Linked DNA regions of Homo sapiens: all the other regions are linked to region 2. Evidence: promoter capture Hi-C in human tissues and cell types (Jung and others, 2019). All regions are on one chromosome and are shown on one strand. The core of a region is centred on a gene start or on the middle of the fragment in contact, and the rest is flanking DNA. Distances in the headings are between cores, read along the strand shown.

The links. The method cuts DNA at HindIII sites, captures the fragments that hold promoters and counts their contacts. A contact is called where the count stands out against the background at its distance.
Region 1: a contact is called between a fragment that was not itself captured here and the fragment with the promoter of PKD1L1 in region 2, in 1 of the 25 tissues and cell types used here (neural progenitor cells).
Region 3: a fragment that was not itself captured here is called in contact with the fragment with the promoter of PKD1L1 in region 2 in 1 of the 25 tissues and cell types used here (adrenal gland).

What each region holds. Positions count from the first base shown.
Region 1 is chr7:47,555,946-47,559,573 of GRCh38, reverse strand. The region is part of intron 1 of TNS3 (tensin 3); the gene reads left to right. Among named protein-coding and RNA genes, the nearest start is that of TNS3, 24 kb to the left of the region's middle. RefSeq lists enhancers at 1,056-1,783, 2,512-3,240. The HindIII fragment of the contact is 6,111 bases long and covers 1-3,628 here.
Region 2 is chr7:47,947,056-47,950,244 of GRCh38, reverse strand. PKD1L1 (polycystin 1 like 1, transient receptor potential channel interacting) reads left to right here and starts at 1,779. Exons shown (of 57, transcript NM_138295.5): 1 at 1,779-1,848. The coding sequence starts at 1,805. The HindIII fragment of the contact is 8,797 bases long and covers 1-3,189 here.
Region 3 is chr7:47,598,261-47,601,500 of GRCh38, reverse strand. No RefSeq gene overlaps it. Among named protein-coding and RNA genes, the nearest start is that of TNS3, 18 kb to the right of the region's middle. RefSeq lists an enhancer at 351-440. The HindIII fragment of the contact is 5,292 bases long and covers 1-3,240 here.

The sequences.
Region 1 (3,628 bases), core at 241-2,740, 390 kb after region 2:
CTTGTTCTCCATTCTCTGCATAGTCCTGGGGTGCGTAAAGATGATGTGACGAGGCTGAGGCACCGCCCTGCACCAGAAAGTTCTTGGAACTCGCCAAGGGCACATTCCTAAGATGCAATGTTGTGAAGCCACCTCTGCTGTCCCTTGGAGAATTCTCCCGCTCCCATTATTAAAAATCTGAACATGTGTCTTGATGTCTGTTTATTTATTTATTTATTTTTTGTGAGATGGAGTTTTGCTTTGTTGCCCAGGTGTGAGTGCAGTGGCGTGATCTTGGCTCACTGCAACCTCCACCTCTCAGGTTCAAGCAGTTCTTCTGCCTCAGCCTCCCAAGTAGCTGAGACTACAGGCGCGCGTCACCATGCCTGGCTAATTTCTGTATTTTTAGTAGAGATGGAGTTTCACCATATTGGCCAGACTGGTCTCAAATTCCTGATCTCATGATCCGCCCACCTTGGCCTCCCAAAGTGATGGGATTACAGGTGTGAACCACCACGACCTGCCTGTCTGTATATTTAAATATGCATTAAACATGGGGTTGGAAGAGTGACATGGGAGGTCTATATACACGGGCGTTGCGAGATTTGCTTCTGCCTTCCAGTGCTTTCCCTTGGGCTCCCTCTGGGGAGATTTCGGCTCTGGGAGATTTGCGGCCAGTTTTGCCATTACCAGGTGAGTGGAAGGGCTCGAGGGGGTCATGCAAAGCTTCCTCCTGCTCATGGCCTTGGACATAACCAAGGAGGGCTTGGACTTGGACCCTGAGCAGGGTTTTCCTGCAGGTGTACACAGAGGAATGTCCCATAGGGTGGCTGTGTGGGAGAGTGGGACCCTGGGGAGGCAGAGCTGGGACCCTCTGCTGAGGGGGGCCCCAGGCAGTGGGCCTTGTCCTCTCCTCATGCGTGGGAAACCTGCCCAGGGAGGCTGTGGTTATTTTGTCCCAGTTTTTCCATCGACGAAACAGGAGTCGGTGGAAATTTGCAAGTAGGTGATGGGAGAGGTGGGCCTGAACCCCAAGTCCTTAGAATGAAAACCTGGGCCTTTCTTGGTCCCTGCAGGTGTGCTCCACTGCAGGGTGGGGAGGTGCTGGGGTCGGCCTCTTTGAAGTTGGGCTGATGGACACAAAGGGGTTGGGGTTGGTGGAGGCACCCACTCTTGCATGGAGGAGGGTGTGGGACCCTCTGCCAAGTGTCAAGTTAGCCTGAAATGAGGCACAGACTGGGAGCTTTGCTTTTTGCCCTGGGGTAAGAATAAAAGAAGAAAACAATGCAGGCCGAGGAAGCATTCCTAGGAGGTGGCGCAGCCTCTTTGATCCTCCTCGGCACCGGCTTGCTGTAGCTTGCTCTTATCAGGACGGCAAATACCCTGTTTCCTTTTATGTTGGGAACCTACAAGAGGCTCTGATGCTAGAATCGGGCTCCCTCATTCTTGCCTGCAGGAAGCAGTGTCCTGTATACAGGCGTCAGCACCCACATGGGGGTGGACAGTGGAGGGCCAGCCTGGGCCTGCCTCGTGTGCTCAGGCCTCCTTGGTGGGGGTGGGAGTGGTGCAGAAGTTCTCGTCATTTGTCATTTGCCAGAGGGACGATGGGCAGACAGCAGAGATGTCCCGAGGCCTGCTCACCGCAGGCCTTCTACGCAGCCCTCTGGAAAAGAGGCCATCCTTCCAGTTTGGAGACTTCCTCTGGAGAATTCCATGACACACATTCTTGAACTGTGGATGTAATCCAGTAAGGCGTGGTTCATGGCATGTGGTGTGGAATAATTCATTGTTGGACAGTTTGCTCTAGGAATGGCGTGGCCTCCCTACCTCCTCCCACTACATGCTAGTGGCCACCCCAGTGGTGGTGATGGTTAAAATGTCCTCACATTTCCAAATGTCCCCAGCGCCTCCAATTATTAGTAGGCAGAGAAGTCAGTTGGCACTTAAAAAAACAAACTAGGATGAAAAATCCCAGAGAGTATTCTGCCAGTTGCCACGTCATATTCCCATAAAACCTTCAGTTATTTACCCATATGGGTGCTTTACCTGGTTGTTACTTAAGATAGATTTCTGTATGTGTTGCAAGGAAAGGCATTGCAGAAATGGACAGGACCATTTTTTTCGTTCCACATTGTGACTCTTCCTTTCCTGTATTTGAAAGATTAAAAGATAGCACCCCCTAGATGGGTGAGGGTTGGGTTAAATAGTAGTGTTGGGACAGAAAGGTCCATTTGTGAGCTCGCTGCAGGCAGGTTTGATGGTTCTGGTGGAAGTAGCCTTGGCGGCTGCTGGTTTTCAAAGCCTCTGACAAAGCTGTGCATATCACCCGTGACTGCACCCTGAGGAAAGACGAAAAGTCAGCCTCTCCCTTACGTAGGACGCTTGTAAACTTTCCCAGACGCACTGTTGGTCTTAAGGATTGTTCTGACCCTGGACATTTGCAGGACTTGTCCAAGGTGGATCTGAGCCTCCTCATGTGCTCCAGGCAGAGATCAGGATTCGGATGCATCACCAACTGGTGGAAGATGGGGACTAGGCACCCTGCACACCCTGCACAGGTCAGGTTCTGTTGCTCCCCGCCCCCGCTGCTCCTGGTTATCGTCTGTGGGGGGCATGGCTTGGTGGCAGGGACTGGAGGACAGAGGGCTGGGAGTAGGGCCTCTTGGCTGCAACCTGCCCTTCTGCCCAGCACCGTTGCATTGAGAATCGCCAGGTGCCATTCCTTCCTTGCATGCCATGCTCACTGTACCAAAGACTTGTGGAGTTTTGCCATTTGGGTTTATGGGAGGTTGCATTCCCCTCAGCCCAGCCAGTGAGAGCGGGCAGCGTCTGGCCTGGGGCCCGCACTTTGCAGCCCCTGAAGATCTCAGCTGTTATGCCTCTGCTTTGCTTCCCTCAGCTTGGGAAGCTTCACTCGCCCCTGCCCCCAGAGTGTGACTCAGATGTACCCACTGACCGGAGGAACTTGTTGGGAGGAAGTCACAATTATGGGCTTAGGGAAAGAAAAGTCAAACAACCAACAAAATAATAATCATGCTCGCCTGTGGATTGGGCCTAAGGGATGTGGGGCCCTCTGTCGTCCTCGGTTCCCTACCTCAGAGCTTCAGATGCCCAGACTCAGGCCGGAGGCTCCTAGGGCCCCAGGACAGGCAGAACACCCACATTCATGGGGGTGCAGAGTTGTCCCCAGATGGCCTGGAGAGACCCCTGCTCAGGGGGTCTTGGCCCTTAGTGTGTCTCAGGATGAGGACTCTAAATAATCTATCTGGGAACCTCCTTAGAGTAGCTGACTTGTTTTACTAAAGGTAATTTTTTAAAAATCACGTTTTGATTTTAAAGTGTCTCCAGGATCTTCTGCAGTTTACTAGAACCTCTTACTGCTCAATTGTCAACAGGGTTATTCTACAAAAGAGGGCATGTGGGTTCAAGGAGAATCTGAACATGGGATTCACACACTGAACTCCAACTGGTTGCCTCCGCCTTTGTGTGTGTTTATATGCGTATGTGTGTATGTAAGTGCACGTTCCTAAATGTATATGTACACAAGTGTATGTGTGTCCACATGAACACACACATGTATACCGTGCATGCATGCATGCACACCTACATGTATGTGTCTATGTGCATGTAATGTGCATGTGTGTATTAT
Region 2 (3,189 bases), core at 530-3,029:
TGTGGGTATGGATGCCAGCCCAGCAGGCAGGGTTGCACAGGTGTCTTTACCCAGTGGACTCTGTTTAGATTTGACAGGAAGGTGTCAGAGCAAATCACAGGGGCTTCAGAAAGAAGGGATTTTGTTCGTTTACAAACTGCAGTTTGCAGTTTATCCTTTTCTTGGTCACAGGCGCATTTGAAAGTGTATTGCTAATGAAATTGGAAAGTATGCATTTCCCCCAAATCTGAGATTTACTCACAACAAGCACAGTGGGGACAAAGCCAGAGGCACTGACAAGGCAGTGTGAGAAGAGCAGAGGTGGCAGCAGGCCCCAGGAGACAGGTGTGTTAGGTCAACAGCAGGCCCCTTAACCCACCACAGGGCTCTGGTTACTCACCTCATTGGCAGCAAAGTTCCAGAAAACACAGGATCCAAGGCCGGACACCCGTAGCTTGGTTCATCATTGTTCAAGGGGTCTGTGTTCCCATCTGAGAAAGAGCTTGTGCCTGAAAACGTTCCCACTCTTCTTGGTATCACTCTCTTCAGAGTGGAGAGAAAAAATATCTAGTGTTCTGAGTAAAACATTAAGTTTTCTAAAATCTCTGAAGGTTTAAATGTTGGTATAAAGAACTAAGACAACTAACAAGTGCTTTAAAAATATAAGAGAAAATGTTTCGTAATGGAGAGAACTCAGTCTGACCCGCCAGTTGCAAACAAGGAGAGGTGCAGGAGGTTCGGAACCAGATCATTCCTAGGTTCTGCCGTAAGACAGAGTGCGCCTAGTGTGTGCCTTGCCAGCCTTCCTTAGGAATGCTCTTCTGCTCTTGTGGAAGGTATCCTGTTCCCCAGTGCAGTTGTGGACAGTTACAGCTTTTTTTTTTTTTTTTTTTTTTTGAGACAGAGCCTCGCTCTGTTGCCCAGGCTGGAGTGTGGTGGCACGATCTCGGCTCACTGCAACCTCCGCCTCTCGGTTTCGAGCAATTCTCCTGCCTCAGCCTCCCGAGTAGCTGGGACTACAGGTGCGTGCCACCATGCCTGGCTAATTTTTGTATTTTTAGTAGAGACGGGGTTTCACTATGCTGGCCAGGCTGGTCTCGAGCTCCTGACCTCGTGATCCGCCCACCTCGACCTCCCAAAGTGTTGGGATTATAGGCGTGAGCCACCGCGCCCAGCCAACAGTTACAGCTTTTTATTCTCAGACTTCTCTCAGCTTCCATGTACAGTCTCTCCCTTGAGTAGTGATCTGTTTCAGGCAGCCACAAAGATCCCTACCTAAAACACACTTTTGTTTTGTTTTGTTTTGTTTCATTTTGTTTTTGAGGCAGAGTCTCACTCTATTGCACAGTGGTGCAATCTCGTCTCACTGCAACCTCCACCTCCTAGGTTCAAGCAATTCTCTCGCCTGAGCCTCCTGGGTAACTGGGATTACAGATGTGTGCCACCACACTTGGCTATTTTTGTATTTTTAGTAGAGACGGGGTTTCACCATATTGGCCAGGCTGGTCTCAAACTTCTGGCCTCAAGTGATCCACCCACCTTGGCCTCCCAAATTGCTGGGATTACAGACATGAGCCACCACGTCTGTCAAAAGCACACTTCTTAGGAAGGAATTTGTCTGACAGTGTTAGGAAAACAAAAGCTGTTTCTGCTTGGGAAAATGTTACTGGAGTTTGGATTTTTCCCTCTGTGTTTGATGTGTGTCCTGATAAGAGGTCACAAGTACAGAAGCTGGAAGCATTAAGCTCTATTTCTTTGTCTTCCAGAGGATGTAGGAAGAAGCTGGTCTGCTGACTGTCATACTTGTGACCAGCTTGCACAGGACATGGCCGAGGAGGCAGCCCAGAACATTTCTGATGACCAGGAAAGGTGAGTTATCACTGTTCTCAGAGGGTTTGGTAAGCTTGATTTTAAAGTATGCATTCAGAAATTTTCTTTCAAAAGTCATCACCTCTAGGATGTGGGCTCACTCTGGCACGAGTGGAGGCCCTGTACCAGGAGGGTGCATTTGGCCGGCGGGGTCAGTTCAGAGGTTGGAGTTGGTGTTGAGAATGGAGTTTTTTCCTGAAGGCTTTTGAGAAGACTCCTCCAAGCGGATGCCTTCAGCCATGAGAAGTGCTGATTGCTCTTCCTGCAAATGCAGGATACCTTCCAAGTTCGAGGACTTTCTGCTGCCTGGTAGTAGACAAAGTTAAGCTATCTGCTTGTCTGCTAGGTCCCTTGCATGGAGACCAGGAGAAACCTGGCACAGGAAGAGATCATGGGGTCTTGGCCCAGGGGTCTTATTTCTTTTTTTTTGAGACGGAGTCTCTCTCTGTTGCCCAGGCTCGAGTGCAGAGGTGCGATCTTGGCTCACTGCAAGCTCTGCCTCCTGGGTTCATGCCATTTATCCTGCCTCAGCCTCCCAAGTAGCTGGGACCACAGGCGCCCACCACCACGCCCGACTAATTTTTTGTATTTTTAGTAGAGACGGGGTTTCACTGTGTTAGCCAGGATGGTCTCGATCTCCTGACCTTGTGATCTGCCCGCCTTGGCCTCCCAAAGTACTGGGATTACAGGCATAAGCCACCGCACCCAGCCTCCATGGGTCTTATTTCTAAACCCTCTTCCCCATGCTCTGTGCGCGCCAGCACCCATGTGTTGTTGAGGCTGGGCAGCCTGTGTGCTCTGCTGTTGACTGTCTCATGGCAGTGTGACATGGTGCAAACCTCCATGCCCCCTTTCCTGGGCGTGAGGCCAGCAAGGTGACCTGCCTGTGGGATGTGGTAAGGACCCAGGTGGGTCACCGCTGTCCCCTGGCCTGGCATGATGGGAGCCTGTGCCTGCAGATCTTGCCCAGTGGGGTACCCCGCCACTGCAGGTCACTTTACCTCCTCACCCCCAGATTTCTCATCCTGAAAATCTGAGTACCCCTGTTGTCACATCTGTAAACTCCAGAGGGTCGTTATAAAAATCAGTATCCTTGATGAATGCTTGCTGTCAGCATTTCTGCCTTTGTTAGCTTACTGTCTTTGTGCCATCACCATCATTTTATCAAAGAAACCCAAAGCAAACCAGGATGAGAAAATGAGGCTGCACGTGTTGACGGGGTTGGTCACATTCATGCTTGGAAATTTCTTTGCCTTATGTCACTCACTGCTGCCAAGCATTGTCTGATTTTGGCTACAATTTTTTCCCTTATTTTTTCTGGTTACCTCATGTTTCTTTTAT
Region 3 (3,240 bases), core at 17-2,516, 350 kb after region 2:
ACATTCTATTCAATGTGAATCACTCTTCCTGGGGTTGGGCAACATAGGGTAGCACTGATTTTAGTGCTCATTAAACCATTTGTTAAACTAATGTGAAATTGCAGAGAAACCTTCTGCCCTTCACCTTGAGGGTGGAAATTAAAGTCAAGACCCACTTAAGAGGAAAGGCCCTGGTGAATTACAACCACTTCCCCTTTTTAATTTCAGTCAACACTTTTACACTGGGACCAAGGGGGCACAAAAGTAATATCCCTTTGCTGAAGGTCTGCAGGAGTTATCATTGCATCCCTCTGAAGGGGACATTCGGAAGTGTGGTTTTGAGATGTCAAAATTTAATCATTGCTAAGAGTTAATGTGGCCTCAGCAGTAAATACACAGGCCCTGCTCCAAGCTGAACCCAGGGTGAATGGTCAGAAAACAAGTCAGGAGAAAAGACACTGGTGGAGGAGGAAGGAGCTTGCTCTGACCCGGAGAAAGAACTCAGTGCCCGTCTTGGCTCAGCACCCTGTCCTGCAGCCCCAGTTTTCTCAGCTGTGAATCACGCCAATAGAACCGTAGATTAGTGGTTTTCAGACTTTTTTAAAGAGACAGTATCTCATTATGTTGCTGTAATGCAGTTGAAACGGGAAAAGTTCCCTTGTCCTCTTCACAGGGCATGTGATGGGGATGTGGCTCACTTCTTTGGTGCCCCCCTGCTCACACCTCTAGGGGAGCATACAGACAGGCAGGTTGTGGGGCTCTGATGCCATGGCAGTGTCTAGGGGTGAATGTTTACAACTTCTGAAGCCCCAGTGGGCGTGTGTTACAGGGTGATCTTTTAGTTTGCCATCCATAGGCAGCTTGTGTTAGTCAGCTCAATTAGACCGTCTACCTTGTCTCAAGGACAGAGGGCTTTCTGTATCCCTGGGTTTCTTGCCTTGGTGTACTAGAAGAATCAGATCACACATGGGCTTGCAGAATGAGTGCAAGGTTTTATTGAGTGGAAGTAGCTCTCAGCAGACAGGGGAGCCAGAGGGAAATTGTTTTCCCCTGGAGTTGGGCAGCTCGGCAGCCCAGGCTCTCCTCAGACTGCCCCAGCCAAACTCCATGTCATTACACCAGTTGATGGCCTGCGGGCATGCCGGTGCCTGTCAATGTGCTCTTCTGCCTGCGTGCTCTCGACGATCAGCCGCTTGTGTCTTCTTCCACCTATGTGTTCCTCACAATGTCCAGTCGCTTGTGTGTCTCTGCCTTGTTAAGGTCTCAGTTTTTATAGGCCCAGGATGGGGCCAGGTGGTGGTGGGCCAGGGTGGTCTTGGAAATTGCAACATTTGGACGTGAAAGCAGAAGTGCCTGTCCTCACCTAGGTCCTTGGGGGTGAAGCCCTAGCCAGGAACCCGCCTTCTTCTACCCAGCTCTTCCCCTCTCTGCTTCTGTATCATTTAAAGGGACCACGCTCTTCCCTTCCCAGCACTCCCTTATCATATCCCCCCTTTAAAGAGGTACATCTAACTGCCACTAGAATATGGACGATGACCGGTCTTAGCTGTTTCCTGTTGACAGGGGCGTTGTTTTGGGGAAAACGGCAGTCAGACTCCTCCCAGAGGTCTATCTAAGGGTTCCTAGCAAAGGGGAGCCATCGTTTGAGGCTCCGGTTGCCTGACGGTTTGGAGTTTGAGGGTTTCTAGGCATGAGAGAAAAAAACAAGTTTTATAAGGTTAAGAATGCATGAGTTAAACATGTGTATTATAACAAGGAAAGAATTGAGTGCCAAAGATTACAGAGACAAGAAGTAAAATATACTAACAACAACATTGTACCCCAAGCTGTTTCATCCTGGTGAAAGAAATTAAACCTTGTATGGGAGCGGATAAACTTTAGAAGAGAGATAGCTGTTCTTGCCATATCCTTAGCAATTCACAGATGCACCCTGGGAATACCTGTATCTTGTCTCTCTTTCCTAGGCTTCCCTTTCTCTATTATAAAAGACTGAGGTAGCCACTTTCAAGAGGTCCTCTAATATACTGTCTGGTCCTAGGACCGGTTTTTGCAACTTCCTACTGATGTCAGGGGCAGCCTGAGTGATAAATTTATCCTTTAGGATTAGCCGTCCCTTGACTGAATCAGGAGATAGAGAGGTGTGCTTTACCAAGGCCTCTCTTAGCCTTTCCAGGAAGGCAGTGGGATTTTCATCAAATCCCTGGTCAATCATGGACAACTTAGTATAATTGAGAGTCCTATGTAAGCCCTCCATTATGCACACCTGAAAGTGTTTCCTCTTCTCATCTTCCATCTTGTCACTGGGATCCCATGTAGGGTCATTCACTGGTACTGCTTCTCTTCAGGTTGGATAATGTTCACCCCCTTCCCTGATGCTATATGTGACACAAAGCTCATCCCCAAATCTCTCTGCTGCTTGAAGAGCGACCTGTTTCTCAGTGTCCATCAGGGTCTGATTCAAAAGTAACATAACATCTCTCCAGGAGAGTTCAAATATTTGGGTGAAATTCTGGAAAGCCTCTATTTATCTATCAGGGTCATCTGAAAACTTGCAAAGATCTTCCTTAATTTACTTTAAGTCCCGTAGGGAGAAGGGGACCTGGACCTTACTGGGCCCAAATTCACTGGGCATTTGTTGGAGGGGCAAAAGTGAGACTGGGGCTTGTTTAGGGGGAGGATTTTTAGGAGTGGGCAAGTGAGACGCTGAAGCTGTAGAAGGAGGCAGGGGTGAACTTGGAGGAACAGGGTTTGAGGGAGCTGGCTCCTCTGCTGGGGGTGCCTCTGGCACTCGTGTCTTTACTTCCCTGGGCTTGCCCCTTGCAGCCTTCCTTGAGATGGCAAACAGGAAGGCTAGATCAATCCTACACTGTCGGCAAAGGTCCTTGCAAGGTACAGAAAGCCTACACATATGGAGCCTCAGACTACCTGCCCTCACATCTACAGAAAAGTTCCAATTGCCAGATTGTATTGAAATGAATGGTTCCTCCCTGAGGCCAAGCCAGTCTTTCCTGTGAATCATAATTTGGCCAAACCTTTGTGCAGAGGGATATGAGGCACTTTTCCTCCAGACTCTGAGAGTCCAAGCAGTTCCAGTGGTTCAGGATACACTCCAGAGGAGTATAAGCTGGGGGTGGTGAAGAGAACGGGTTGCCCATTCTGAAAGACAGGGAATAGAGGCATCCCTCATTCCCTTCCTTCTCTCAGCAAAAACTCAGGGTGTGATGAATAGAGAAAGCGAGCATCCTCCCTTCACTCTCCACC